Linked DNA regions of Homo sapiens: regions 2, 3, 4 and 5 are each linked to region 1. Evidence: promoter capture Hi-C in 16 types of primary human blood cells and fetal thymus (Javierre and others, 2016). All regions are on one chromosome and are shown on one strand. The core of a region is centred on a gene start or on the middle of the fragment in contact, and the rest is flanking DNA. Distances in the headings are between cores, read along the strand shown. Region 1 holds the start of LYRM9 (LYR motif containing 9). Region 2 overlaps NLK (nemo like kinase). Region 3 overlaps NLK (nemo like kinase). Region 4 overlaps NLK (nemo like kinase). Region 5 overlaps NOS2 (nitric oxide synthase 2).

Region 1 (5,953 bases), core at 1,548-4,047:
GTGTTATCACTGGCACAGATGTTGAGAAGCAGGCCCACAGTCCCATTTAACCCCACTGTCCTTTTCCCTAATCTATGTCCCGATATAGGCACCTAAAAATAAGTGGGAAAAAGTCATATATTAAAAAAAGACGAAAGAATGGAACTGCAGAAAATAACCAGAAATTATGCCCTATTGAGCACTGATACACGCTAAATTAAGCCTGCACAGGCCATTTTTTAAATATGCAATTACTCTTCTTGAAGGGAAAAGTTGAAAAATAGGAATGGAGTGGTTTTGCTTCCCACCCCCACCCACTCCAGGGCTCCATCTTGCACATCTGTGTTCTCCCAAGCTAGCAATGGGGCAGCAATCCCTGCCTCCCCCAGTCCCTCTCCTACATAGCCAAGGCTCTAAAGTCCCCTCACCCCCTCCCTGCCCCCTTCATCCCTGTTGGCATTACCTTGGTTCCCAGCTTTGTACCCATACCTGGCTGGGACTATCCGAATACCTCCTGATCTGTCTCCCTCCTTCCAGCCCAATCCACATGGTGCCACCCAAGAACACTTCCTAAAAAGCACACCCTGTCACTCCCCTTCCTCAGAACCTCTGTAGAGAGTTCTCTACCCATGGCCTTCTGAGATCTGTTTCAATCCCTCTCATCAGTCTCCCCTCCTGCTGTCCTTCCCACACTTCCTGCATTTTAGCCACAGACTGAACTTGGAGGACTCTGGGATCAGACAGTCTGGGTTCAAATCCTGGTTCTATCACCTGCTAGTTCTAGGACCCTGGACGAGTTTCTTAACTTCTATCTCGAAGTCTGTTCCCCATCTGTCAATGCGGTCCCTAATAAATAGTATTTCCTACATAGGACTGTTGTAAGGATGAAATAACGCTCCTAGACTACTAAGCATGATGCCTGGCACACACTACATGTTTCCTACTAACTGTTATTGTTAATACCATCTCTGAAACATGCTGTGCTTTCCCCTACCTTGACTTCTTCACCTGCCTCAAGAATTCCCCTTCATCCTTAGAGATCCAGTTCCCTGTCACCTCCTTCAGGCTTTCATCCCATGCTGTTCACACCCCTATTACAGTCATCACACTGCTCTGTAATCACTTATTGTGATTATAATCGATGTGACAGAACTTAGAGCAGGTTTTGGAGACAAAGAACCCTAGTTTAAAAGCCTACCTCTGCTATCTACTAGCTGTGTAATCCTGGCCAACCTGGTTGACTTCTCTGGACTTCTGCTTCCCCCACTGTAAACTGGAGAAAAGAATAACCCACCTCACAGGGGTTTTGTAAAGACCAACCTAGCTAACTTATGGAAAGTGCCTAGCACAGGGGCTGGCACATCTTAAGTGCTTGAACATCTTTTTTTTTTTTTTTTTGTCCTGAGACAGGGTCTCACTCTGTCACCCAGGCTGGAGTACAGTAGCATGATCAGGGATCACTGCAGTCACAACTGCCCGGGCTCAAACGATTCTACCTCAGCCTCTCAAGTGGCCGGGATCACAGGCACACGCCACCACGTCTGGCTAATTTTTTTAATTATTTATAGAAACGAAGTCTTACTATGTTGCCCAGGCTGGTCTCAAAATTCTAGGCTCAAGTGATCCTCTTTCCTCAGCCTCCTACGGTGCTGAGATTATGGGCATGAGCCACTGCGCCCAGCGTTGAACATCTTACCCTTTCCTACTTTATTTGGCTTTCTGTTCCTTGCTGACTGTAAGCTTCTGAAGAACAAGAAACTATACTGTATTAGTTCAACACCTGTGAAATGAAGGGAAATTAGTAAGAAAAATATATATACGGTTATTAGTCACTCCTCCACAGTTTATAGTACCTGAACCATAACAGAAGTTCCATAGATGTCAATTGATTCCCAAGTTACCAGAGGAAACTAAAGCCAGCAGGAAACTGTCCTGAAGTCAAGAACCTATGGCAGGTGAACCCAGAAAACATTACGCTAAGTGAACAAACCCAGTCACAAGGGGCTACTTAATGTATGATTCCATTTATACGAAACATCCAGAATAGGCAAAAGTACAGAGACAGAAGTACATTGGTGGTTGCCTAGGGCTGGGAGAATGGGAGTAGATGGGAGGGGGGAGTGACAGCTAAAGGAGGTGTTTCTTTTGGGGGGTAATGTTCTAAAACATTATGGTGACAGCTGCACAACTCTGCAAACACACTAAAAGACACTGAATTGTGCACTTTAGATGGGTGAACTGTATGCTTCGTGAATTATATCTCAATAAAACTTTTTAAAACAATAACCACAAAAAGGATCAATCCTAGGAGCGAAAGGGTTTTGGCCACGGAGCAACTTGCTCTTACGCAGAAGCATAAATCATCACGACAAGGTTGCTCCGGCCACCGGGTGCCGCGGGCAGAGGGACGGTGGAGGGGACATTCTCCTTTTAAAAGTGGCCAGGCCCGTGAGCCTCTGAGAGGCTGGCCTCCGGGCTGCCCCGGACCTCGCGCCCCTAGCTCGCGCTGCAGGCCTTTCCTGCTCCTCCGAGGCCGCCCGGCCAGGCCTGCGTCAAGCCCGGGCGCCGCGCTCCGGTGCACTCAGCTCTCCGGTGGAAGAGCGCAGACCGCAAGGGAAAAGGTGCCGGCGCGGGTCGCCCCTAGGTCTTCAATAGATCCGAGGACACCCGAGGCCTCCACATCCCTAGCCCGCCCCCGCCACCCAGTGGCTCCGGCCGCCGCTGCCCCCGCGCCCCCGCCCTCGGCCTCGGCCTGCGCAGCGCGGCTCACCAGCCTCCAGGGGAACGCCAGCCCCGGACGCCGCCGCGGCGACGAGTGCGCCTGCGCCCCGGGGACTGAGCGGCACCGCCCCTGCCCGGCGACGGTGAGCCCAGCGCCCTCTGCCGGCCGCGCGCGGGACTCGGGGTCCTACTGGGTGCCTCTTCCTAGATCCGACCCCACCCAGTTGAAAGCTGTCCCCACTAACAGCCTTCGTTACCTGTTACCTCAAACACCCACTCTGCCTTCTGGCTGTTGCTACGCCGGATATAAGCCCTAAAGGCACTCTCTCCTCCTTATTCCTGAATATGGATTGTGCTATGAATATGGGGTGTTCAAGATCTCTGAAAGGCTTGCTGGAGGACTTTTCCTGAACCTCTCGTGTTGATGACAAGAATTGTGTTTGGATAGGAATCTGCGTTTTGAATCATTTCACCAAATTACAGTCCCATAACACCTGTCAAAAGAATAAATATGACAGTAATAAGCATGCTTCCTTTCAGACCCATCTATAATTATAATTGAGGAAAATAATACAAAATTTAAACTTAGAGCTACTGCCAGTATCATTCTTTGAAAATGAAATAATGCTGTTTATTAAATAGGCTCTCCCTGCTCTCTAATGTTTAAAGCTCAAGTGCTTCTCTGAATTGATTTAAATACAAGTTTTATATCCTGAAAGAAATCAAGATGAGTCATTATCTTAAGACAAACCCCCCTGTTCAATGATGCTGCTGATCTCTCAGCTGATGTCTAAGCGGGAGTTAGGTTGTTAGTGGATAATATTGCTTCTGTTCACGTCTCTCTTCTCCAGGGCTTTTTAAACCTGTTTGTAACGAAAAGGCTGATTTCCTTCAGACTCCATGTGTCGTTGATTTAACAGGACAACTTCTTACAGGTTTTTCTTTTTCCTTTTTCTTTTTTTTTTTTTAAGTAAAACATTGCTCCCCGGTGGCACCTGGGAATCTGTTTTTCTTCTCTTAGGATAAGAGAAGCAGGGATATTTCTTAACGGAAGTTTTGTTTTGTTCCTAACTCCCTTTAGAGCTTCCTCTTTTCTTTTTTTTTCTCTTCACCTAACATACTAGACTTCCCTCAAATCGGGGGTGGGGGATGGGAAGGTGGGGTTCCCTCCCTTGAAATATTCAGATAATTGCTTCCATTTATTTTAAAGATGTAGACTTGGACAAATATATCTGAAAGATACAATTGTACCCTCATAAATCAGCCCTCTTATTTACACATGCATAATCAAGGGCACGTCATTAATGCAGAGCCAATCAATAAATCATTAAGCTTTTAAAGCCCTTATTAAGAACAATCTGCAGTAACATCATCCACTCCTGTGCTCAGTCTTAGGATCATTTAATAATTTTAAGAAATTTCACAGTCTGTTCTGTAGTCTCATCTCCCTTTTGTTCCTAGATAGCTGTATTCCTGCATCAGAAACATGGTTCTAATACCTAGATCTCATAAAATATTGAAGATGCAAGCTGTTTGCTTTACCTCTGAAAGGCTCCACCTTCAGAATCACTTGTGCCTCTTCCAATTTTACAAACGCACAAGATTTTAACTTTCACAACAATTTCTTATAAACATCCAAATACTAAGAAAAAAAAATCCAAAGTAGGAGAGATTTGAACAATAATCTCTAATTTTTTTTCCAAGTCACAATGGAAACCTAGATTTGAAAATAATTGAATTTGAACCTTTCAACTTGACAGCAACCTTAGGTTCTTACAGCTTCAATAGTAAAATGAAATAATTTTTACTAGTCCAAACATTCACTTAAAATGACACCAGTCTCATAATCTGATAAAACCCCAACCATTTTTACCATGTCATTTTCCTATACACTGAAATTTTAGCAGATGAACCCCCTTATGTCAGACAGTGCATGATATTTACAGATAAACAAAATAGAAAGACCTTTTACTTGAGAAATTAGTCACCCACTGTCCAGGGGACATGTTCGCACAGGGGAGTTTATTGACTTTCCTAAGAAATACACCACATTCTCTTGATTTCTGACATTATGTCATTTAGCCTGACAACTGCAGATTTGTAACCAGTATTTGTAGGGAAAGATACAAGAAGTCCTGACGTTTCCAGTTTAAACCTGTTTTTAGATTTCAAAGAGAAATGATAACGTTTGCATCCTCTGATTAAATCAGGTTATTGTCTCCAAGGGTGACCATGTAAATAATTCAAATTAATTCATCAGTGTACAATAGGTTTAATAAGCATAATAAACACTTTTAAGAAAATACTTAAGACCCTCGGTCTGCCCTCGATCTTGCTCCCTATTATCTCAGATTTCCCTGAGAACAGAATGAGTGGTACCACGTTGTTCTCTTCTATTCAAAATATGCAAAGCTGCTATTTACCAGCTTGCAATTTGCATGTCTCAAATCCTGCCAGAACACAGGGTGAGGGCCATGGGGTGATGGGTGAATATGCCAGAAGAGGACACCAGGGGCGAAAATGGAAAATGGGGTGAACAGATTTTCCTTACCCCAGCGTATTGCAAAACACAACTCTTGCTGACTACTCAAGATTTAAGACAATAAAAATATTGGGTATGAAAGGTTATGTGAAATCTCAGACATCTAGTTTGTTTTTCTTTAATTGCTGGGCAAAAGAAAGGGATGAGCAAGGATTTCAATATTTTTATAAAAGGGAACACAAGAGGAAAAAGGGTACAATTGTGACTATTTACAACATACACTTGGAGATTAATTTATGGGCTGGGTTTCAGCCTTCCTGGTCCTCCATACTATGTTACTTTCTGCAGCACCATAAATCCAACTTTGCTGACTGGTATATGTCATTCTCTGTTTCTAGTGTGTTCTGTAGTAATTTATTAACAGTGACCACATGTGAAACCACATTGGTGATCAGATGTATGTTATCTCTGAATATGTCCCCACTTTTTTTATCTCTTGAAAATATGTTCTATGTCTCATGATTTCAAATTGTAAATAACATACACACATACACATAATGTTTTGTATGAATCACCTTTGGAATGGAATTTCTTTTTCATAAAAATTTCAAGTGCATGCTGGATGTGTATGTGGCAATATTACCAAAGGAGTGAATGCGCTTGGGAACATTCTTCTTTTTTGCATTTTGACAGCATTTGACTAAAGATCCACTTAAAATTACCTTGCTCACAAAGTGTAATTCTGTTTCCACTGACTATATCTGCAGTGTC
Region 2 (5,953 bases), core at 1,380-3,879, 230 kb after region 1:
AGCCACTGAGCCTGGCCTGACATTCTTTTACCTATTTAGTTAATATGTATCAACTGGGTTCAGTCAGAAAAACAGAAACCACACTCCTATTTCAAACATAGGGAAATATAATACAGGAAATTGGTTATATAGGTGTTGGAAGGCAAAAAGAGAAAAAAAAGGGAGTGGGGGGACACAGTTATTAAAAAGATAGTAACTGCAAGAAGCAACTACCACACTAAGAGCTGGGAAATAAAAGGGATGAGGTTATCATTACTCGGGAGCTACAGGGATCCCTAAGCTGGCACCCAGACTTCTAAGGAGGGGACAGTGTTCAACTGCTGCTTATATTGAAGTCCATATTACTAAAAGATGTTCATATACATAAGAAATCTAAATATTTAAATTGTGTTTGAACATGTCTTCCCTCTCAAATGTAGTTCTGAAAATAAAGCATAAAGCTAATTTGACTTTTATCAAATTAATGATCTATGCTGCTTCTGTATGTTTTTTCCCATCTTTAAAATGGCTTTACCACTAATACCTCTCCTACCTCAGATGTATAAAGTGACCTCTCTGAAAGAGTAAGTGTTTATAGAAATTTAGACAGGGATTTTTTTTTTTTTAAAGCATGGCAGATGAGTTGGGTGACCAAACATTCTCTTTAATTATAGATATGTACTCTTTTATCTTTCTCACTGACACCTTAAGCTTCATTAAGTGGACTTAATGTTGAGTGTTTTAAGATAAAGATATTGTCATGATCTGAAACATTGGAAAACAAGGTGTGGAACTGATTTCTCTGTCTTTTTTTTCCCCTTCCCCAAATATTGCTTCTTTAGGTCAGTAACAGATCCAAGAGATGGAAAGAGAGTAGCGCTCAAAAAGATGCCCAACGTCTTCCAGAATCTGGTCTCTTGCAAAAGGGTCTTCCGGGAATTGAAGATGTTGTGTTTTTTTAAGCATGATAATGTAAGTGAAATTGGTATTTGGGGGAAACTATTTCCTAAGCCTCCTGCATTGAATTAGTAAAGAGCAGATGAAAGTTTAAAAGGGCACCTATAAGTAAAATTTGGAAATTGGCTATAGTTTTATGCCAAATGTGAAAAGAAATAAGCGCACCAGTGAGGTTATGGGAGAATACCTATTGATAGGCTTTCAATTCATACATTCTTATTGAAAGAGATGCACACACACACACGTTTTCTAAGCTGTAGTCTTTCAGTGCTTTGCTTTCCTTTTATATATACTCTTTATGTCTCTCTATGACTGTCTTAAATTTTCACTATTGAGATTAGTGGTTTTCAACCTTAACATATTAGACTCACCTGGGGAGTCCATTTTATCAGCATTTTATTTGAAGGTTTGAAAATTACACTATGAATTGTATGACATGCACAAGCCCTAAACTCCAAATCAGGAAACGTTGAACCTATTGAGTTTCGCATTGGCTTCTGAAATGTGGTGTGCACTCTCATTTGTCAATCTGAATGTCTTTTTTAATTCTAAGAATACAAGCTATTAAATATGTTTAAAGCCCATAGAAAAGGAGCATATATTTGTAGGGAAATAGGTTATTAATAGAAACCACAACCAAGGTTTTTATTGAGGGGCTTGGAAACCTGAGACAAATTAGACCCTTTTTGTGACTGAACAATGAACAAGTGTAAGTGAATTCAAGTGAATTCTAAGATTGATTGATTGACAGGTAAATATTGATGCAAAGCAAATATTGATATTTAGCCGAGGAATAATACTAATATTCAACACAAAAATAGAGTGTAGTGATTTATATAGTGAGTGATTTAAGTGGAAATAATTGACCCTTGATTTTAAGTGCTTTATTTTTATCTCAATATTTTAAATCAGAGATTAAGTTAGAGATGTGGGAAACAGTTTCTCCTATAAAAACAGTACATCCCTTAAGGTAACATAGGCTACCTTATTTATGGCTATGTTTAGAGATGTGAAGACTTATAGACAAATAGACTCGTGTTTTGACAGAACTTTCCTTCAATTAATCCTGAGTTAAAAATTTGATACATGTAAAATTTACCTGGAGGTCGCCAGCATTAGAATATGTTTTCATTTTCATGTGAAAAGAAAAACTGCCTCAAATTCTTTATATAATACTCAACCTATGCTATTTTAATTGCCATAATAAAAACTTATCAGAAAAAAAATTATGATTTCTCATGAGTCTGAGTGCTTATTTGCACAAAAAACTCGAGAACTTTGGCCAAAGGTTTGGTCTCACTTTAAGAAGCAAATTTTGAAAAGTTTGAGGTATTTGTTAAAACTGGGAGTACTAAACTTACCATATGGTTCACTCGAAGCTCCTTGGTTTGACATATTTCATTTTAATGATTATTCCTCTTGAAATTCTCTTGCCTTAATTTTTTTAAAGGGCATTGCTGTGTTTTAGTCAATTGGAACTGCCTAGCAATATGCTTGTTTTAATACATTTCAAAATACCACTTGAAGCCAGGGACAATGGCTGCATCTGTAATCCTAGCTACTCAGAAGGCTGAAGTGGTAGGATCAGTTGAGTCCAGGAGTTCAAGACCAGCCTGGACAACATAACGAGACCTCATCTCTAAAGAAGAAAGTTTTTTAAATTAGCTGGGTGTGGTGGCACACATCTGTAGTCTCAGCTATTTGGGAGGCTGAGGTGGGAAGATCACTTGAGCCAGGAGTTCAAGGTTGCAGTGAGTTATGATCAACCACTGCACTTCAGTCTGGGTGCAGAGCAGGACTCCATCTCTAAAAAAAAACCACACACACAAAACAAAATACCACTTGAGTTACTATTTTACTACCAGTTCCTCAGATTTTAGAAATAATTTAGAATAATGTCTAGTTCTTTCTTAGTTATTTCTTGACCTTGCCTTAGTGTGTCACCTCAGCATCAAAGAGTGCAGACCTTCTTTCATTGTCAGAGACTCAAGTAAAGGTATCCATGACGAAAAAATATTTCAAGGGTGGCATCAGAAATTTGCTTACTCGGGGCCGGGCGCAGTAGCTCATGCTTGTAATCCCAGCACTTTGGGAGGCCAAGGCAGCTGGATCATTTGAGTCCAGGAGTTCAAGACCAGCTTGGGCAACGCTGCAAAACCCCATCTCTACAAAAAATAAAAAATTAGCTGGGTTTGGTGGCACATGCCTATAGTCCCAGCTACTCAGGAGGCTGAGGTGGGAGATCACTTGAGCCTGGGAGGCAGAGGTTGCAGTGAGCCAAGATCACGACACTGCACTCCAGCCTGGGCACAGAGCAAGATATCACCTCAAAAAAAAAAGACAAAAAAGAAATTTGCTTACTAATGATGTCAATGGCTTACTATATTCCAACCAATCTTGGCCTCTTCTATAAAGGAAGGGTGGTATAATAAGCTGCTGTTTGTCTAGTTGGTATTTTTGCTCATGACTCATTCCTAGTAACTAATTAAGTTACAAAGACAGTGTCAAAGGGAGTAGTGTAAGAAAAATAAACTGAATTTGTGAAAATCACACCAATTAAAACATAGAAGCAATTCTCATACAGTTTCTAAGAGCTGTGCTTTAAAGTCAGAACTAGGTTTGAATTGTGGTTCTACTATTTTGTACTGTTGTGTCTTGGACCTTAACTTCTCCAATCTTTAAGTTTTTTTCATTTTCGAAGCAGGCATGGTAAAAGCAGAAATAACTGTGTATGATTGTTGCAGAAATTAAATTTTTTTAATGCATATAAACCTGCTCAACACACAACCACTATTTGAAACTACTGAGCTCTATCATAGAAGAGTGCCTGTGACATCTGTGAAAGTGTTTAAAAGTGAGGCACATAGTTGAAGATGGCACAGCACCACTATTTTATATATAATAGATCTCTGCTATCTCTGAGATCTATTTCCAAAAGGATCTCAGGGCCAGCATAACTACTATGTGTGGAATGCCAGTCTAAGAGGCAACTGGTATTTGATCTAGTTAAGGCAGCAAATGTTTATTTATTGTGTCCTATGTAAGGAGTGCGGTGCTAGGTCATGTGGAGGATACAATAAAGGCTTAAAACACTTTCTTTTTGAAGGGGTATGTTTAATATTGCTCTGTGTCAGGAGATATGCTAGATACTTTACATATATTAATTAATTTACTCCTTAAAAATCGTGTCAGATAGGGCTTGTTAACCTTACTTTGTAGAGGAGGAACCAACGACTTGGAGTTACGTAACTTGCCCAAGGTTAAGGTGGCACAGATTGGACTGTAAATCTGTCTTGCTGTAGAGCCCATATTCATTAATTCAGTAAACTTTTATTATGCACATCCTGTATGCCTAAACTACATTAGCTCCTGTTGTCTTTACCTTCAAATAGTTGAAATAATTTTCAAAATGTGATAACTACTATGATAAAAGCACTGTGGGAGGGTTGCCTGCATGGTTAAACATTAAGCCAGGACAGCTGTGTGCATAGCAAAGAGCTGGACAACCAAAACCTAGAAATGTATTCAAAGATTCCCTGGAGAGGGGGACCTTAAAACACAGATTCATGGGTCTTACCTTGCACCTACTAAATTGTAATCTCTGGAGTTGAGGCCCAGGTATCTGATTTTTTAAAGCTTCTCAGGTGACAGGCAAGTACCATAATATTAAGAAAAGAGAAAAATTGTTGTGGACTTAGAAATTCAAAGATGCATCAAACACAGAGAAGGAAAATCTTAATATGAGCCTTTTGAGAACAAGATTTGATTGAAGAAGAAAGGAATGTCATGATAAAAATGGCATTTAGAAAGATCTTGGTCATTGTAGGAAGGTTGGATTTTAATTTGGATGGCTTTTTATGTGTCAAAGAATAGTAACAAAGCCTGGGAGGCTTTGGATTTTCTTTTGAAAGGAACCTTCAAAGTCACTGTATCAAATTCATTGATTTCAGGTGACCTGACTGAATTTTTACACACATACACACACACATCTGAGTACCTGCTTCACCATCTTAACACATTCACCTTGATGAAGTAACTTGGGGAAACAGAAATGGGTTTAGCTTTCTAAAAATTGGTGTTTAGGCTTATTACTAGTATCTATCTGAGCTTTTGTAAAATCTGGCAGAATCTTCTCTCTACCCATCTATGCATTTGTGCTTGTATGTATATACATGCATAGTTGTCATATGATCAGCAGGGAAAGTGATGATTTAGGTTTTTTGGATCTTTGAGATGAAAGCTATGAATCCTGTCAGAAAAATGCACATATATACAATTTTAATGTCATTTTAGGCTTTCACTTGTCCTCTAAAGCCCATTTAGAGCCCCCTTAGGGTCTATTGATTCCTGCCAAGAGCCCCTGTAACGCAAGTCTTGGACATTTTTCTTGTCTTTAGACAATAACACTAAGTACACAGTAGGCGGCGATTCTATTTGAAGAGTAAGTGAGTGAATGAAAGTGACAGAAAAAAAGAAATCTAAGGGCCTGGAGTGATAACTTCTGTGATCTCTCTCTTGGGGTTACTTTTTCTTGTCCTAGCTCTGGAGTGCTCCAGAGAGGGCTAGAATGAGACAAAGAAGCTTCATTCATTTTCCTTTGTATAGTCTGACCTAACTCATACAACACCCCTTTGGGTTCATAAGTAGGTTACAGAATCATACAGTATGGGAAAAACAGATATGGCCTATCTTTTAATACAGACATGCTGTTCAGACATTAGTAATACTAAGTGCTAACTAATACTAACTGTTGTGCCGCTAAGGAGTTGGAAAAAGCAAAGGATGATGTAGAGGTAGGTTACTTTTCAAGGAATTTGGTTTTGTTTGCTGTGTGCCTAAAGTTTATAGTTCTAGGCAGATTACTGTCACATTTAAAATAATACAGTCTCCCATGTTAATGGATTGGAAGACTCAATGTGATTGATAGGTCTTTTCTTCCCAAGTATTGCTATACATTTCAGTATAATCTTAATCACAGTCCCAGCAAGGTTTTATGTCTATATGCGTATGGAAATTC
Region 3 (5,953 bases), core at 2,539-5,038, 210 kb after region 1:
TTATAATTTTACACAAGAAAAAGTACAATGTGGTTTACTTTTAGCCTAGTTTACCATAGTTAAGCCAAGAAAATGTAAGCTAACCAAAAGCTTGCAGAATTGTCGTTATTGTGACTCAGTGGTATAGACTTGAGTTTTCAAAAATGAAGTGTTCTTGTAATTTTTTTTATCCTCCTACAATATAGTCTCAGATATCTAGTCCTAAGGGGCTATAATTGAAGGAATATTGAAGGAGGAGAAAATGTCTGTCAACAATTTGCATTTGGTTGGAGAAGATTATGGGAACTTTAATATTGGAATCCTGACACCTGGGCATCAAAAGGGAAACTTTCAATGGGTCATTGCTGTAAATTAATCAAAGCCCTTGTGCATATTGAAGACACTTCTCTAGTTTCCCACTCCCCCATCTATTTCCAAACAGCAGAGAGAACAGGAAAAAGAATTTTTCAACATCTTAATTTTCTTCAATAAATAAGTCCCTAATAAAAATCTACTGTTACAAATCACTGGTGTCAGAGAAACAGTTTAAGAAGAAATCCCTTACTACTGGCAGATAGAGAATTGCTTCCTTTCTGCTCGAAAATAAGAGGTGTATTCTTCTTCCAGTAGTTGCCTTGTAGCATGCATAAGTGGGACACTGAAGGGTCTAAACAGTGATAGGATGGAGCCTTTCCCTTGTTTTCATGCTTTGTGTTATCCAGCTGTGTCATTTATGTTACAGTACAACATCCCATCACCACCACCTCTAGCCAGACTTAATGAGAGTAAGTTTTATTCTTTTTCCATCTAATGAAACTTTGCTTGAGCCATTTGCTTATATTTCAGTTTTGTTTGGGATATAACTTAAAAATGAGACACCAAGGTACAAGATGCATATTATAAGTTATTTTTATTGTATAACCTCTGAAGGCAACATTAAAAAATGTTCAAATAACAAAATACTTACTTTTTGATTATAGAAATTTTTAAATTATACTAATGTTATTAAGAATTGGCCATGCTTCTAACTGTAATTGTTACTTTTATTAAGAAGGTTTAATAAATGAGTTTCATTTCTTGTGTGGATATCTGTATTTAACTTGGTTTCTTTGACTTGGCATTATACAAGTAAAATTCAAATTTCCTTTTTCTGCAGTCAAACTTACATATATTTATTCTCTTCTTTGAATTACATAATGCTGAGTTGCAGGAAAAATTGGTTAGGCATGGTCCTTGTGAACCCAAGTTGTATTTCAGTTTTATAAATAAATTATCCTTACTCAGTTTGAATATCTGAACCTAGTTGGATTGGGAAACGTTATTTTAAAGCAGGCACAATAAATTATTTACCCTAAATAATTTAAAGTATATTGCTTTTTTTCTGTTTGAAATTACCTATAGTTGTTATAGTAGTATAAGGCATCTTACCTACTGTTGATATGATTATAATGACAGATACTTGTACATTTTCAGTGTCTTCAATTAAGATGATTGACTCTAAGTTTTAGCAACTAGGAAACCATTGAGGATATATCACTTTTCAGTTGTGATTCCTGCCTTTGTTAGTCTCCTTGACAAATTGAATTTCCATTTTACGTTACAGTGTGGGTTTAAATTCACCAAGCTTTAATAAGGATCCTGTTCCTTTTCATTTTTTTCTTTAAGTGAATGTTTACAGGGTAACCTAGTTGACAAAAGTTTGTTTCTTGGCACTTTGCATTTGCCACTTCTGTAATTTTTTAAGGTGTCGACTGGTTATTAATAGATTAATCTTCCTTAGAACTACAAATAACCAGATCCAGCACTGTGCCCTTTTCTTTTTATAGATAAGGGAACTGAGACCCAGATAATATAAACCTACGAAGTGTACACTAGAACCTTCTGTTACTTCTTTATCTACCACAGGGCAAACTGTAAGTAAACAATTAAAATAACTGATTCAATTTGTGAATCAGCTCTCTTGAAATGATATAGTTGCTCATGTTAGATCTTTTGTGATAACAATGATTGAAGTCCAAAGGTAATTGTTTAAAAAATTGTCATAAGAATTAGGCAGAACGGGTAGCCTCATATACCCAAGGTGGAGTAAAAGAGAGTAGAAATTATGAATTATTTTTCTTCTAATAATAGAAATCTGTTATGATAGTTATTACTCACTTATTTGTACTATAACTCTTCCAAGTAGAAAGTAAACATTTTTGTCAAAGGTACCAGCATAAAATTCAGGAAAGGGGAAGAAAACTGACATTGAGTACGTCTTTATTCATCAATAAGGGTGCATGTATATTATTGGCCACATCATTTTAATTGGATGGATATTTCATTATTTAACCAATCACCTATTGTTGGGCATACAAGTTTTTTCCCAGTTATTTTTCACAACTATGAAAAGTTTTTCATTACCATTCTTTTTTTTTTTTTTTTTTTTTTTTGAGATGGATTTTTGCTCTTGTTGCCCAGGCTGGAGTGCAATGGCGCCATCTCGGCTCACCACACCCTCCGCCTCCCGGGTTCAAGTGATTTTCCTGCCTTAGCCTCCTGAGTAGCTGCGATTACAGACATGCGCCACGACGCTCGGCTAATTTTTTATTTTTAGTAGAGACGGGGTTTCTGCATGTTGGTCAGGCTGGTCTTGAACTCCCGACCTCAGGTGATTCACCTACCTCTGCTTCCCAAAGTGCTGGGATTACAGGTGTGAGCCACCGTGCCTGGCTTTCATTACCATTCTTGTACAGGCTTATTTTGTCTGATTGTTTCTGTAGTAAACATTTCCAGAAGTAGAATTTTGGGACAAAAAGGTCCACCCATTTTTTAAGGGTTTCGATAATACAACGCCAAAATACTCTCCAGAAATGTACTAATTAACACCTTTCATCACTAGTGTAATTCTTGCCAAGTCTATGAGAAAAAAATAATATCTCAGTTTCAATTTTGTTTCTTTTATTAGTGCAGTGGAGTACTATTTCTTTTGTTTTCTGATTTTGTGTTCCTTTTTTAAAATTAAGATTTTGTTTACATACAACAAAATTCACCTATCTGTGAATTTTGTACACAGTACAGTTTTATTTTGGTAATTATATACGATCACGGAACCCCCACCACAATCAGAACGTTGAACAGGTCTTTCACCCTAAAAAGTTTCTTCCTGTTTCTTTGCAACTGGTCCCCTCTCATCTGCAGCCCCAGGCAACCATTGGTCTAGTTTCTGTCACTATAGTTTTGTCTTGACAAAAGTCATTTTGTAGACATTTATATTTTCAAATAAATGGAGTCATATTGTAAATAGTCTTTTGTGTTTGACTTTTTTTTTTTTTTTTTTTTTGAGACGGAGTCTTGCTCTGTCGCCCAGGCCGGACTGCGGACTGCAGTGGCGCAATCTCGGCTCACTGCAAGCTCCGCTTCCCGGGTTCACGCCATTCTCCTGCCTCAGCCTCCCGAGTAGCTGGGACTACAGGCGCCCGCCACCGCGCCCGGCTAATTTTTTGTATTTTTAGTAGAGACGGGGTTTCACCTTGTTAGCCAGGATGGTCTCGATCTCCTGACCTCATGATCCACCCGCCTCGGCCTCCCAAAGTGCTGGGATTACAGGCGTGAGCCACCGCGCCCGGCCTTGACTTTTTTTTACTTAGCATAATGTTTTGAGATCCATCCATGTTTTATTAATATTTCATTTGTTTTATATTATTGAGTTGTGTTCTTTGCTATGGATGTACCAACATTTATTTGTGTGTTCATCACTTGATTAGCATCTGGATTGTGCCAAAGTTTTGGCTTTTATGAATCACACAATTGTGAACATTTGTGTGCAAGTTTTTACATAGCTCTTGGGTAAATACCTCTTTTTTACATTGCTCTTTTACATTGCTCATTTTAGATTTTACATTTTACATTACATAGCTCTTTTTACATTGCTCTTGGGTAAATACTTAGGAATGGAATTTCTAATTCACATGGTAAGTATATATTTAACTTTATAAGATACCACCATACTGCTTTCCAAAGTGTCTGTACACTTTGCATTCATACCAGCAAATGAGGATTTTCTCCAAATCCTCATGACCACTTATTATTTTCAGACTTTTTTAAAACCACGAGCTCATGTTTTATTGGAATAGAGAAACTTGGCCATAATTACAATATAGTATGATTAGTGCTAAATATGTCAGTCTTTTAAAACTTCAGCCATACCAGTGGCTGTGTAGTAGAATCTTACTGTGGTTTTAATTTGCATTTTTCTGACTAGTGATTGTTGAGCATACTTTTATGAGCTTATTAGCCATCTGCATAAAGTGTGGAGACCTTCCCTCAGTTTTAATTGGATTATTTATTCTGGATACAAGCCCTTTGTCATGTAGGTGTTTTAAAATAGTGTCTCCCATTTGGTGGCTTGCCTTTTCATTTTCTTAACAGTGTATTTTGAAGAGCAAAATGTTTTTATCTTATGAAGTTCATTTCATCTATTTTTTTACTTTCATAGTTTTTGCATCTTTGTGTTCTAGAAATCTTTACCTAACCCAAAGTCGCAAACATTTTATCCAAATGACTTTTTTCCCTGAAAGTTTAATCAGTTTTACCTTTTAAATTTAGTCCTGAAAGGGTAGCCTTATATGTCCAAGGTGGGGTAAAAGAGGGTAGAAACGATGAATTATTTTTCTTTTAATAATAGAAATCTGGCCAACGTTGAAGTTGTGTATAGTGTGAGAGTAAAGGTCATGAGTCATTTTTCTCCATGTGGATATCCTATTATTCCATCACCATTGGTTTAAAAAGCTATCTTTTGTTCTGTTGAATTACCTTGGCCTTTGTTGAAAATTACTTGACATATAAGCATAGGTCTGTTTTTGGACTTTGTGTTCTGTTTTATTGACCTCTATGTCTATCATTATGCCAGTACCACCACATATTGATTTCTGTAGCTTTATAATGTTGAAATCAAGTAGTATAAATCATTCAACATTGTTCTTCAAATTTGTTTTACCTATTCTAGGTCCTTTGTCTTTACATACAAATTTTTTAATCAGCTGTTGCTTTCTTCAAAAAAGCCTGCAGGATTTTGATTGGAATTGCATAGAATCTAAAGATAATTTTGGGAGGTTTGCCATTTGAACAGTAAGTCTTTTAAGCCATGAACATGAATCCATGGGCATGGTATATTTCTCTTTATTTAGGTTGTCACCAATTTCTCTTTGCAATGTTTTGTATTTCTCAGTGTACAAGTCTTGCACATCTTTCATTAAATTTATTTGTGAGTATTTTTTTTGTGTGTGCTTCTTTTGTAAACAGAGTTGGGGTTTTTATTCATCTTTATCTTCTAATTATTCAAAGCTAGTATGTAGAGATGCAGTTGAGTTTTGTAGATTGACCTCATACCCTGGAACTTTGCTGCTTTCATTTATTAGTTCTAGTAGCTCTTTGTATGTTTCTTAGGATTTACTGCATGTATGATTTTATCATCTGTCAGTCAGGACGTTTTGAGTTTTTCCTTTCTCATTCATATGCCATTTATTTATTTACTTGTTTACTTATTTTTTTCCCTATTGGCTAGGGACCCAGTGTACATGCACTTTTACAATTGCTATGTTTCCCTGATAAATTGTCCTTATATAGGTATAAAATGTCTCTATTTCTTGTATAAATTTTATCTTGAGATTTATTTTATCTGATTCTAATATAACCATTTTAGCTGCCTTATGCTTACATGCTATATTCTTTTTCATTTATTTACTTTTAACCTATCTGTATCTTTTGTTTAAAGTGTATCACTTATAGACAGCATATGATTGGGTATTGTTTCTTTGTCCATTATGATAGCCTCTGCCTTTTAATTGGAATTTTGGTTTATTAATCTTTAATGTAATTAGTGATGTATAGTGAGGTTTGGGTTTACCATTTTGTTGTTGTTGTTTTCTATTGTTGCCTGCATTTTGTTTTTATGTTCCTCTTTTCCAGCCCTCTCACTTTTGGATTATTTGAG
Region 4 (5,953 bases), core at 2,023-4,522, 180 kb after region 1:
AGCATGTAATATGCATTCACTAAAGTTTGTTGAATTGAGTTTTCAAAGTCTTTATAACCAACTCTTGAAATTTTAAGCTTCTAGCTAGGACTGTTATAACTTAATTTGCTAGTTTTAGAAAATAACTTTTAAAGCAATTAAAGCTTATTCAACACGTTGAAGATAAAATAATTTTATTTGGTATTTGGTAAATTCCTTGGGCTAGTCCTATTTAAGGATGGATTAAAATATGATAGAAGTGTTATCTTACAATCTCCAGATGGGCTGGGGTGATGTAATTTTGGAGCAAATGAACATTCACATCCCAATTCTAAATCTGAGCTCATTTTAAAATTATACACTTGCGGGATGATCTGTGCCACAAACCATGACACACATTTGCCTATGTAACAAACCTGCACATCCTGCACATGTACCCCTGAACTTAAAAGTTGGAGAAAAAAATTACGCACTTTGTATCTGTAACATCAAGGGGAATTTTTGCCTTTGGGTTACTATTTTTAAAAAATTTTTTTAAATGGATACAGTGATAGATTTTAGAGCATAACAGTTACAAATGGAGAGGTTTCCTAAATGACCTTGATTACTTTGTGTGTGTTGGGGTAGGGGGTTGAGGAGGTTGTTTTTCTCCTGTTGCCTGAATTTAAATGTTTTTTCTATGGTGAATTACATAATTATTTCGTGGCCATTATATATTTGTCCTGCAGTTTTTTATTATTTTTTTACGAAAAGAGATCTAAGGGCCTTTAGGTGTCCATTGGCAAAGCTGATTTTATAAATATGTGTTTCTTTTGCCTAGCATCTTTTCACATATTTGAAGATATATAGATGGGAAAAGAGCAGTAGGATGAAAAAGGGAGGTGAGAAGAATTCTTCGTAGAGAGCAAAAACAGGTGAGGAAAGCAACTAGTGTAGCGGTTGGGATGACTTAACAATAGAGGGAAGGCACAGGTCAGAGAAGAAGGCAAGAGGAGGTGCCAACACCCGAGGTTGGGAGGTGGACACCAAGCTGGCTCATGATGAAACAAGCTGGCGTATTTCACTTGTAAATGTTTTTATAATATGCACTTTTCATTTTAACATCTCCAAAATTAGGATGTTTCTTACAATTGTTTGCTTTTTATTTTTGTTAGTACATAAAATAATGGCACATTTACCATTAGTGGCATTTTACAGTTAATGAAATATGGTATAATTTTACATTGCTCACAAGGAGTATTGGCTGTGTTAGCCTGCTAGTTTACATTATGTGATCTGGCAGACAAATCAGTTTTTAAAAACATTCAGAAACAGACTCAGCATTCAGGTGATTTGGACAACTGATTGATGTTATTCCAAAAGAAACCTCTCTCTAAGGTGATTCGTGTGAAACTAGCAACTTCTTTTTGTAAAAGGTCTGCCACTGGATAGGCTGTGTTTGCAGTTGCCACAAATTCTGAATCAAAGGCAAGTAATCATTAGGTGGAAATCAAAGTAACCTTTCTCTACCCCTGTGATTTGAGGGGCTATTTCCCTGAAGCATGTGCAAATTATTTGTTAGGCAAGAACAACTTGTATGGCAACTTCTTAGCATTGCTTAGACAACATCTCTGTACAGTTTGTGCCTCAGGTTCATCTCTGTTTTGTATTCTTGAGTCTCTTTGGAATTTTGACACAGCAATTGAGCTCTCAGACTTACTTATTTTACAAAATTGGGCATTTGAGTAAAAAGTGCCTCAACTTAAAAACTGTTCTTAAGTTTTCTTCTTTTGCTTTGGCTACTATAAAGCCCAGAGTCAAATGTGCACCCTCCTCAGTTAAGGGATGTAGAGTTTCTTAGCTTATGTTTTGGGTACAGACCACTTTCTCGGTCCCTTCACCCCCACTTCATAAGCTTCCTACCCATTTTTTCCCCCTTCCTCAAACCCTTATTCCTCCTCTTCCCGCACCCTTTAATCTTACACTGTATGCTTCTGTCTTAGCTACCTCCCGTCTGTTTTGGAATGGGGTGGGATATAGATAAAAGCTAAAAACGTCAACAGATAAAATCTATCTTTAAAAAACATTTACCCATACAGTGAAAAAAGCACATTGAAATGGTGAAGTGAAAAGCCCAGTTTTGTTGTCCTTTTTTTGTATATGTCTTAAATGAGGTGAGTTGTTTTGAGGAAAGGCGAATTTTGCTTTGCCAACATTTGTGATGGCTTTAGTGTGTTGGAGCTAAAAAGGATTGTGAGCTCTTTCAAGTTACTTCTAATTTAGAGACACTAGATTTTTAAAGAAAAGGATAATTAAAAATTTGGATAACTTTAAAAGATGGAGTTACTGTCAAAATACCAAAGACTAGGTAGCTTATAAACAACAAAAGTTTATTTCTCACAATTCTGGAGACTAGGAAGTCCAAGATCAAAGCTTCTGCAGATTTGGTGGCTGGTGAGGGCCCATTTCCTGGTTCATAGATGATACATTCTCAATGTGTTCTCATCTGATGGAAAGCAGAAGGCAGGTCTTTGGGGCCTCTTTTATAAACGGCACTAATCCCATTCATGAGGGCTTCACCTTCATGATATAATCACCTCTCCCAAGGTCCCACTTCCTAATACCATCATATTGGTGATTAGGATTTCAACATACAAATTTTCAGGGGACTCACACATTCAGTCCAAAGCAGTTCCTGTTGATTAGCTGAAATAATGTGACAGAGCTGTACTGTTTTCCAACAGAAAAGGTACTTTTAACTTTTCTGTTAGAAATTTTGATATTTTTCCTGAGACTGGAGAAGGTAAAAGAGTATCCCCATTTTTGTGCATCTGTGTATTAAATTGGTATGTGAATAAAAGAGGACCTATGGTTTATAAAACAGTGAAAAACAAAGAAGTGGAGTAGAGAGGGTTAGTATCATTGGTTCATGCAGTTTTTTAAACATCTGTCCTAATCTAACCAAATTAAGTGCAATGTAGTAATTGGACTTTTGTATTACCATATTTTGCCTCTCTTCCTATTTCTTCTGCCTCTGAAGTAACATTGCAGCTTGTAAGATTGACAATTATATTCAGTCTGATATAAGTAAAATTTGCTAATTTAATGCTGTGTGTCATGCCATGGTTTTTTTAAATTGATGTTTTCTTTAGTTAGTACCCGTGTCCCTTTTACTTTTTCCCTTTCTTTGCTTTGTACTTCTCTTTCTTTCTTTTTTTTTTTTTTTTTTTTTTTTTGGCTTTGTACTTCTCTTTCTTAGACAAGGTACAAACCTCCTTTCCCTGCCTTCTTTCCTTCCCTTGTTTGCCACCTGTATTAGTCCGTTTTCACATTGCTGATAAAGACGTGCTTGAGACTGGGAAGAAAAAGAGGTTTAATTGGACTTGCAGTTCCATGTGGCTTGGAAGGCCTCAGAATCATGGTGGGAGGCGAAAGGCACCTCTTAACATGGTGGCGGCAAGAGAAAATGAGGAAGATAAAAAAGCAGAATCCCCTGATAAAACCATCAGATCTCATGAGACTTATTCACTACCACGAGAACAGTATGGGGGAAACTGCCCTCATGATTCAAATTACCTCCCACCGGGTCCCTCCCACAACATGTAGGAATTATGGGAGTAGAATTCAAGATGAGATTTGGGTGGGGACACAGCCAAACCATATCACCAGCCCTGGAGGATAAAAGTCATTCCTGAGAATTAATTGTCTTGGAATACTTAAATTATAAACAATTTCTAAGGCTATTAGGCATCTGATACTATCAGTTAATGCAAAACATTAATCTGGAGATAAAATTAGGCATCTTGATCAGTTTGATGCCGAGAATGCCATTATATTAAACTTTGCATTAATATGGAGGGAATTAATAAGAAAATGTTTGGAAACTTTAGCTTCTTTTGCCAGTGGTGTGTTATAATTCTTTCATACTGGAAATAATAAACTAACTATAGATTTTCATGTTTTTATAGTATTAACCTTATTTTAAATTCCTATCATAGGTCTCTCTCATAAGTTTCGAAGAAAGAGTAATTCTTTTTAACAAATATATAGATGCACAGAAAGTTCTGCTTCTTTCTCAAGCATGTTATAGTTATAGGAAAATATGAAACAATTCTTAAGAGGTTGTTCTTCCTTAAGGTATGCATTTGTTATTTCACCAATAAAAAGAATTCATAAAAAAAAAAGTGCTATCGATTGAAGCTTATAAATGCCTCTACTCATTCAATCAGCTAAAATTATGAAATGGTATACTGCTTTAATCCAGAAAGTACTGTACATTATTTTTTTCTCCCAGAAAACATATGTGATTATTTTCTGTAATGGCAGCTGAATGGGGGTTTAGATCATTGCATATCCAGTAGGAGGAAATTAAAATTTAATTATCAGAAGGTTTCCTGAAATAACATGCCTTTTTTCAAGCATTGAAGTAAAAATGACTATAAACCTCTTTTGATTATATGATAAATTAGATCTTTTACCATTAAAAAAAATTAACAGATTTTATTTTTTAAGTCAGTTTTAGGTTTACAGCAAAATTTGGGAAGTACGGAGTTCCTGCCTATCTCCCCTGTGCCACACACACAGTCTTCCTCTTGGTAGCAATATTGAACCTGGCCCAGGAAATTGTTGAAGACTTTGTCGGGGGTCATTCCATCTGTGGCACCAGTAAATTCTGTCATTGTTATCTCTTTCTGCCAGGATTACTACACGTGTTCTCATTGTAGTTAGTCACCTTATAGCCAGTTTCACCCACTTTCCATTTTACTTTGTGTTCATTTTCAGCCTTATTGGAAGATTAAATAAGATGATACATGTAGTGTGCCTAGTACAGTGCCAGACTCAGAGTAGTCAGTTTGGTTTATAGCACTCTCTCTGTAAACTACATGGTTTATAAACCATGGTTTATAGCACCCATTCTCTCAATTGTGAATAAAGTTCATCTGTAGTCCTAGCAAGGCATTAAAGGACCCTTAAAAAAAAGACCTTAGCCTCCCTTCTCAGATTTATTGTACTCTTATGGATTCTTTTTATTGTTAAAATAAAATTGACCATTGTAACCATTTAAAAATGTACAGTATAGTTGTGTTAACTATATGCACATTGTTGTGCAACAGATCTCTAGAACTTTTTCATCTTGCAAAACTGAAACTACCCATTGAATAACAACTTCCCATCCTCCCTATCAGCTCCTGGAAACCACAGTCTACTCTCTATTTATATTCATTTGACTACTTTAGATACCTAAATAAGTGGAATCATGCAGTATTTGTCTTTTTGTGACTAGAATATTTCACTTAGCATGACATGCTCAATGTTCATCTATGATGTAGCATATGACAGGATTTCCTTTTTTAAGGCTGAATAATATTTTGTTGTATGTATATACCGTATTTTCTTTATTTATCCATTGATAGACAGATGTTTCCATCTCTTGGCTTTTGTGAATCTTGCTGTAATGAACAGATATGCAAATATCTCTTTGAGATCCTGGCTTCAATTCTTTTGGATATATGTCAATAAGTAGGGTTGCTGAATTATATGGTAATCCTATTTTTAAGTTTTTGAAGAGCCTTCATACTGTTTTCCATAGCAACTGGACCATTTATATTCGCACCAGCAGTATACATGGGTTCCATTATTTTCACATTTTTGCCAGCACATGTTATTTTATTGTATTCTATTTTTGATAGTGGCCATCCTAGCAATACCTCATTGTGGTTTTCATTTGCATTTTCCTGATGATTAGTGAGGTTGAGCATCTTTTCATATGCTTGTTGGCCATTTGTGTATCTTCTCTTTTGCCCATTTTTAAAATCAGGTTATTTTGTTGTTGTTGAGTTGTCAGAGTTCCTTGTATATTCTAGGAAGTAAACATATATGATTTGCAAATATTTTTTCCCATTCTATAGGTTGCCTTATCACTCTGTTGATTGTTTCCTTTGCTGGGCAAAAGTTTTTGAGTCCTGTTCATCTGTTTTTGCTTTTGTTGTCTGTG
Region 5 (5,953 bases), core at 1,659-4,158, 130 kb before region 1:
TGCTTTGGCCACACAGATACTTTCTGAAAGGGGGGTTTGGGGAGAGGCCAGGGAGACTCTCCTGCCCCCATTCTACAGATGGAAAAATGGAACACATTCACCCGACTTCTCAAAGCTGCCAACTGGTCCAGGATGTGCAGTAAGGCCATCTGACAGCCCACCCAGCTCAGATCTCAGCCACTGCTAAGATTCTCTTGGGGTCCAGAACCTTTCTGGGCCTGATTCCCCTGGGTCTACCTGCCACCCCTGGTCCTGGCTCCAACGGCCTGTGCCCTTGGCCGGCACCTTCAGCCCACACACCCACTACTATACCTTGAGCTGAAAGAAATAGTCCTCGACCTGCTCCTCATTCAATTTCAGCTTGGCAGCCACCAGCTGCTTCAGGGTGTGGGCCACGTCCCGGGCCATGCGCACATCCCCGCAAACATAGAGGTGGCCTGGCTCCTTGTGGAGCACACGGAGCACCTCGCTGGCCAGCTGCTGCCGCAGGATGTCCTGAACATAGACCTGAAACCAGAGGAAACAGTGGGTTCAGTCCTCAGCTGCTCAGGACAAGGCTTGCAGGCAGGCCTGCTGGCCTCAAGGAGGCGGGGAGAGGGGCACTAAGGGGTGAGGAGTGAGTCCCCTTCCAGCCAGGACCTTGCAAGGGGCCAGGCTCAGGATGAGGTGCATGGATGCCCCTGGGGCTCGGCTGGGATTAGAGAGATAAATGCTGGACACAGTCCTGCCCTCGAGGGGCTGACCATCCAGTGGGGATCCCAGACTGTCTCTGAATTTGCCATGCTTCAAAAAGGCATCAATGAAGGCAGTCCCCCTGCCCAGGGCTCTGCCTACACCCCAGAAAAGGGAGCCTCTCAATGCAGTCTACCCATTAGGTCTCTGCAGGGTATGGATCCCGGGCTCCCCAGATACAAGGTCCAGGAGTCAGTCAGGGACTCTCTGCTCCTGCTCCACACAGGATGCCCAGTGGCCCCAGCACTGGGCACAGAGCACTGGGCCCAAGAGGTGCCCTGATGGGACAAATGTGTGAAGGCCGAGAGTCTATTCTGACACCCCAGGCTCAGGGGGTAACGCGGCCCTGGGGACAGAAGAGCCCCTCTGATGGCCGTGGTGGAAGCATCGGCCGCCCTCCAGCCTTGCAAGGCTTGAGCGTAGCCAGCCTGGACCACCTCTCCCCGGGCAGTCGCGTGTCCCAGGGGGCCTGCTGGGGACCTTCAGCAGGCTGGGCTCTGGGGTTAACCCGCGTGTGACCTAGGTTAGTCCTGAACCTCTCCAGGTCTGTCGCTTCTGCTGTATGAGAGGGTGTAATGCTCTTCACAGCATCACTCTGATGGTTGTGAATTACCAGCATTTTCGAGCTCAGGAGGTGAAGGCTCGGGGAGGCGAGGGGCCTGTGGGGACCCAGGGCTCACAGTGGAGCTTGTGTGTGTAATGCTTCACCTGCTTTGAGGCTGCATTTACCTTGGGCTTGCCAGGCAGGCGGGAATAGGCTGTGTGCACCGCATGCAGCACCCCCTTCTGGGCCATCTCCAGCATCTCCTCCTGGTAGATGTGGTCCTCATCTGGGCGGCGGCACCCAAACACCAAGGTCATGCGGCCTCCCCGCACTCCTGCAGGAGTCCCGGGCTGTTGTTACCATGTTGGCCACCAGAGGGCGCCAGGGCTCCAAGCCCAACTGGAATTCTCACTTCACTCCCACTAGCTATTTAATAGCATTATCCCCACTTTACAGATGAGGAAACTGAGGCCCAGCGCATTCAGATCACTCATCCATAGTCACAGAACTGAAAGTGCGGATGCAGAATTCCCTCAGCCAATCGGAGATCAAAAGCAGGGACTTTCCTGTTACCTCCACTCCCAGGAGAGGGAGCCCTGGCTACTATGCGGGAGACGGAAAGGCAGCCATTCTAACCCGCAGAGGCCCGCACAGGGAAGCAAACTTGGGAGGCCTTCCCTCGAGAGAGGTCAGGAACCGTTTGTGGGGCTGCAGTTCTGCTCCTAGGCAGGCGCTGGCCCCCTGGTGCCCCTCCCACCTGGGAAGCCTCCAGCCTTACCCTTGTGCTGGGAGTCATGGAGCCGTTGCTGCCAGAAACTGCGGAAGGGCGCGATGCCTGTGCCAGGCCCGATGAGGATGCAAGGATGGGAGGGATCCTCGGGGAGGTGGAAGCCGCTGGCACTGAAGAGGACAGGAGAAGAGGGGGCCAGTCCTCAGACACCCCAGGCCCACGCACACACAGGATGGCTGGGGAGCTGGGCCTGTGGGAGGCGGTCGTGAGGGGGTGGAGAGGACAAGAAGCTCCTATTTGATTTCCCACGTCCTGCAGGCTGCTTCACTTCTGTCCAGGCACCAGCACCTCCCCCAGGTCCTTCTGTAAAAGGGCCAAGCTCACTGGACTCTTGAGACCCACCTGTCATCGCTGTCCCTGCTACAGGCAGCCACACCAGTGTGACCCCAGTGCCTTCTTTATGGGCCAAGGGGCTCCGAGCGTCTCCTAAACCCCAGATCCCTCCCTTTCCTCCCGGAACTCCCAGGGGTCGGCGGCCCCACAGGGGACAGAGTGGAAGGGGTGCTTACTTCCGCACAAAGCAGGGCACTGGGTCTTGGGGCTTCAGGCTGTTGAGCCATGTGCTGCAGACGCCGTGGTGCAGGGGACCCTGGCCATCTGCAACGATACCACAAAGTGACCAACGTCCCCCCACTGCCCATGCGCAAACTGTACCAGCTGCTCCGCCCACACCACGGCCCTCCTTGGACGCCCCCACTCAGGCACTCTCAGGACTCAATGAGCAGCTGTTTGTCCTCCTGGTTCTGAGATCCACCCTCTGTAAGCGCGGAGCTGAGGAACGTTGAAAGGGACTTAGAGAGGCTGCAAGTTGCTCCTTCTGCCCAAGCAGAAACTGAGACGGGGAGAGGAAAAGTGACTTGAAAAAGGTCACTCAGGTCGTGGTGGAATCAGGTGGACAGCTCAGCTTCCCTGACTCCTACTCCAGTGCTCCTTCCAAAGACTTTCTCCGGGAACACTCCCAGCTCACCACTGAGCTCCACTGACAGCAGCATGAAGTGGCCCCTCAGGGTGGCTACTGCTGTGCGTGCTCATGAGCGTGGCCCTTGCTGGTAGCAACCCTGGGTGGTGGATGAGTTCCGCGCATTTCAGCCTGCTCTGGCACCTTGCTTTCCTCCTCAGTGGGCCCTCCTGGGCTTGTAGAAACCCAGGAGGTCTCTCTGGGTTGTGTTCCCTTTACAATGGCCCAGCACTTGAGGAAGGCCTCCAACCAACTGCAGAGGTCCCCCTGGTTTTCCTCGGGATTAAACTTTGATCTCACAGGACACGTCTGCCTCTCCTCTCCTGGTCTGGGTGGCTGTTCTCTAGCAGGGCAAATAGAGTCTCTGCCAAGGTTTTAGAAACTGTGTTTTTGCTTCTTGAGGACAGAGGGCTCGGAAGTGTGGGCAGCTCCCAGCTTTGCCAACCCAGGCAATGCTCAGTTACAGAGGGCAGGGCAGGGGGCAGCGGCCAGTGGTGGAGCCGAGACCACCTGGACGAGATGTTGGCCTCCCGCTCTATGGCAGCGTCACCCCCTGCTCTGCTTCCCTCAGTGACCCTGACCTTTCCTTCTTGGCTTCAGCACAATGAAAATCATCTAATTATTTCTATGCCTATCTCTCCACTGCCGCCTCTAGATGCTCCCTGAGGGCAGGGCTGATCTCTGTTGTATTTCCATACCCACCCCAGTGCCAGGCACCCACTGAATAGCTGAGTGAGTGAATGAATAATCAATGCAGAATCTCCCCTGCGTTCAGGCTGCATGATTGGGAAGACTAAGAACCACTGGCCTCCTACCAAGGGTTGAGTGCTCTTCACATCTGATCTCATTAAATTGTCCCAAGAGTAGTGGGACAGTGGAGTGGTGGAGGACTTGGACTCAGCAGTTAGACTATCCAGGTCTGAATCTCAGCTCTCCACTTACTAACAGTGTGACTTTCTGTGCCACCTGTAAAATGCACACAGTGCCTACCCCACAATGTAACTGATCATATACATACAGAAGGCTTGGTTTAGTGCCTGGTTCCTAGAGATCTCTCCCACACACCTCCTAATACTGTTAACAACTCTGGGCTGTGGGTGTTCCCTCCCTCCTTGAACTGATGAGGGAGCTGAATCTGAGTTGATGAACAGATGTCCAATAATGGGCGGAGCGGGGCTGTTCCAGAGCCTCTGCCCCTGGCTCACCTCGGGTGTGGTAGGTGACCACGGCCACAGTCAGGTGGATCTCTGTGGGCGTGTGATCCCGGGAGGAGCTGATGGAGTAGAACCTGGGCTTCAGAATGGGGAGCTGGGAAAGCAGGAAGCCAGCAGACACCCGCAGGGACGGGAACTCCTCTAGCACCTCCAGGAATGTGGGGCTGTTGGTGAACTTCCACTTGCTGTACTCTGAGGGCTAAAAGCCAAGGGTGATGTCAGTGACTCAGGGCGCCTGTCCCGCTTTGGGGAAAAGACTGTCACAACCCAGTATTCATTCATTCATTCACTCACTCAACAAACAAGTCCATGTGCCAGGCACTGTCCATGGTGCTGAGACGACCAAACTTGAGACAAAATAAGTGCCTGTCCTGGAGGAACTCAGTCCAGTACATTTATCTAACTTGTGTTACCTCCACTGTCGGCAACTCATGGGCAGGGGTCAAATCTTTATTGTAATTTATTTGGGGCAAGGCTTTGGAACCAATCAGACCTGGGTTCAAATCTTGGCTGGGTGTCCTCACTAGCTGTGGAATCTTGTCCCAATTACCCTTTGTGAAACAAGGACAGTATTGCCTGTCTTGTGGGGATGTTATGGGAATTAAATGAGAAAGCATGTGCCAAGTTAGTACATTGCAGCCACAAAATAATGGCGGTGGAGGTAGCTTAAATTGAGATAATTAGCTATAATGATGATGATAATAATGACAACCAGTGCCTTTTGCAAAGACTTGGAACCAGACAGTTGCAGGTGAGTTAACGCATTCTCTCATTAACTTATTAATTCAGCTCTCCATCTGTCACTCTGCCCATTATGCCCATTTATCCATTCATCCACATCATCCATCCCCCAATACATCTTAAGTGACAAGTTTATTCCAGTTTTGGGGAAAGCAAAGACGGATAAGGGCGGCTCCCCTTTCTAGCTAATGTTCAAGGCAGTGCACTCTGGTTGCATCCTGCAGACACTTGGAAAAATTCAGTTCACTCAACACAACTGTGTCCTAGACATGGGCCAGCGGACGATGCCTGGCTTCCCACCAGCCTTTGACAAGTCTCACTTTGGGAACCTGGTGTGGATCCCTCTTGAAAGTTAAAACCAGCTCTGGACTCTGGCTCCCCACATGCTGGGACCCCCCACATACCCCCACTGCCCACCAGCCCTGATCTTCACCTGGCACAGGGCCTCCAGCCTCTGTCTCTCAGGCTCTTCTGTGGCCACCTGGGCCAGCTTTTGGAGCAGCAGCTGGGTTGGGGGTGTGGTGATGTCCAGGAAGTAGGTGAGGGCCTGGCTGAGTGAGCAGGGGGGCAGCCTCTTGTCACTGACCCAGTAGCTGCCTGGATGGGGAAGGAAGGTGTCAGGATGGAAAAGAGGCCCCATTCAGGATTCTCAGCAGGTAGCGAGGCCCCCAGGCAGACACCCTCTATTCTCCAGCTGCAGGGGAAAGGAGGCTCTAAAGACCTGGCTCTAAGAGCAAAAGGCAGGAAGAAGGTGGCGCATGGAGAAAGGACTGCCAGGGAAGGCTGATCACCAGCCCCCAAAGGGGCAGTAAGTTGGCGTGGTCCTGATAAACTAACCACGTCCTTCTCTGGCCCAGACCTGAACTTTAGCAAGACACTCACTGGTGATCTACAGACTCACAATGACTAAATCCACCAAAGACTAATGGATACCTCACAGGCCAGTTGTTCACTTAGAGAGAAGCCCATGACTG

What was found. The method cuts DNA at HindIII sites, captures the fragments that hold promoters and counts their contacts. A CHiCAGO score of 5 or more calls a contact.
Region 2: a fragment that was not itself captured here is called in contact with the fragment with the promoter of LYRM9 in region 1 in 6 of 17 cell types (megakaryocytes, M2 macrophages, M0 macrophages and 3 more); the score reaches 11.0 in megakaryocytes.
Region 3: a contact is called between a fragment that was not itself captured here and the fragment with the promoter of LYRM9 in region 1, in 2 of 17 cell types (megakaryocytes and M2 macrophages). The highest score is 6.4, in megakaryocytes.
Region 4: a fragment that was not itself captured here is called in contact with the fragment with the promoter of LYRM9 in region 1 in 2 of 17 cell types (megakaryocytes and M2 macrophages); the score reaches 10.8 in megakaryocytes.
Region 5: a contact is called between a fragment that was not itself captured here and the fragment with the promoter of LYRM9 in region 1, in 5 of 17 cell types (naive CD4 T cells, naive B cells, monocytes and 2 more). The highest score is 5.9, in naive CD4 T cells.

Annotation. Positions count from the first base shown.
Region 1 is chr17:27,890,568-27,896,520 of GRCh38, forward strand. It overlaps LYRM9 (LYR motif containing 9), which reads right to left and starts at 2,798. Exons shown (of 4, transcript NM_001076680.3): 1 at 2,750-2,798. RefSeq lists a silencer at 2,430-2,979. The HindIII fragment of the contact is 2,313 bases long and covers 1,718-4,030 here.
Region 2 is chr17:28,121,782-28,127,734 of GRCh38, forward strand. It overlaps NLK (nemo like kinase), which reads left to right. Exons shown (of 11, transcript NM_016231.5): 2 at 822-951. Among named protein-coding and RNA genes, the nearest start is that of NLK, 82 kb to the left of the region's middle. The HindIII fragment of the contact is 3,882 bases long and covers 689-4,570 here.
Region 3 is chr17:28,096,289-28,102,241 of GRCh38, forward strand. All of the region lies in intron 1 of NLK (nemo like kinase), which reads left to right. Among named protein-coding and RNA genes, the nearest start is that of NLK, 57 kb to the left of the region's middle. The HindIII fragment of the contact is 4,375 bases long and covers 1,602-5,953 here.
Region 4 is chr17:28,073,905-28,079,857 of GRCh38, forward strand. The region is part of intron 1 of NLK (nemo like kinase); the gene reads left to right. Among named protein-coding and RNA genes, the nearest start is that of NLK, 34 kb to the left of the region's middle. The HindIII fragment of the contact is 1,767 bases long and covers 2,390-4,156 here.
Region 5 is chr17:27,758,569-27,764,521 of GRCh38, forward strand. NOS2 (nitric oxide synthase 2) reads right to left here. Exons shown (of 27, transcript NM_000625.4): 21 at 5,413-5,576; 22 at 4,230-4,437; 23 at 2,576-2,663; 24 at 2,055-2,176; 25 at 1,462-1,610; 26 at 313-507. Among named protein-coding and RNA genes, the nearest start is that of NOS2, 39 kb to the right of the region's middle. The HindIII fragment of the contact is 7,852 bases long and covers 1-5,953 here.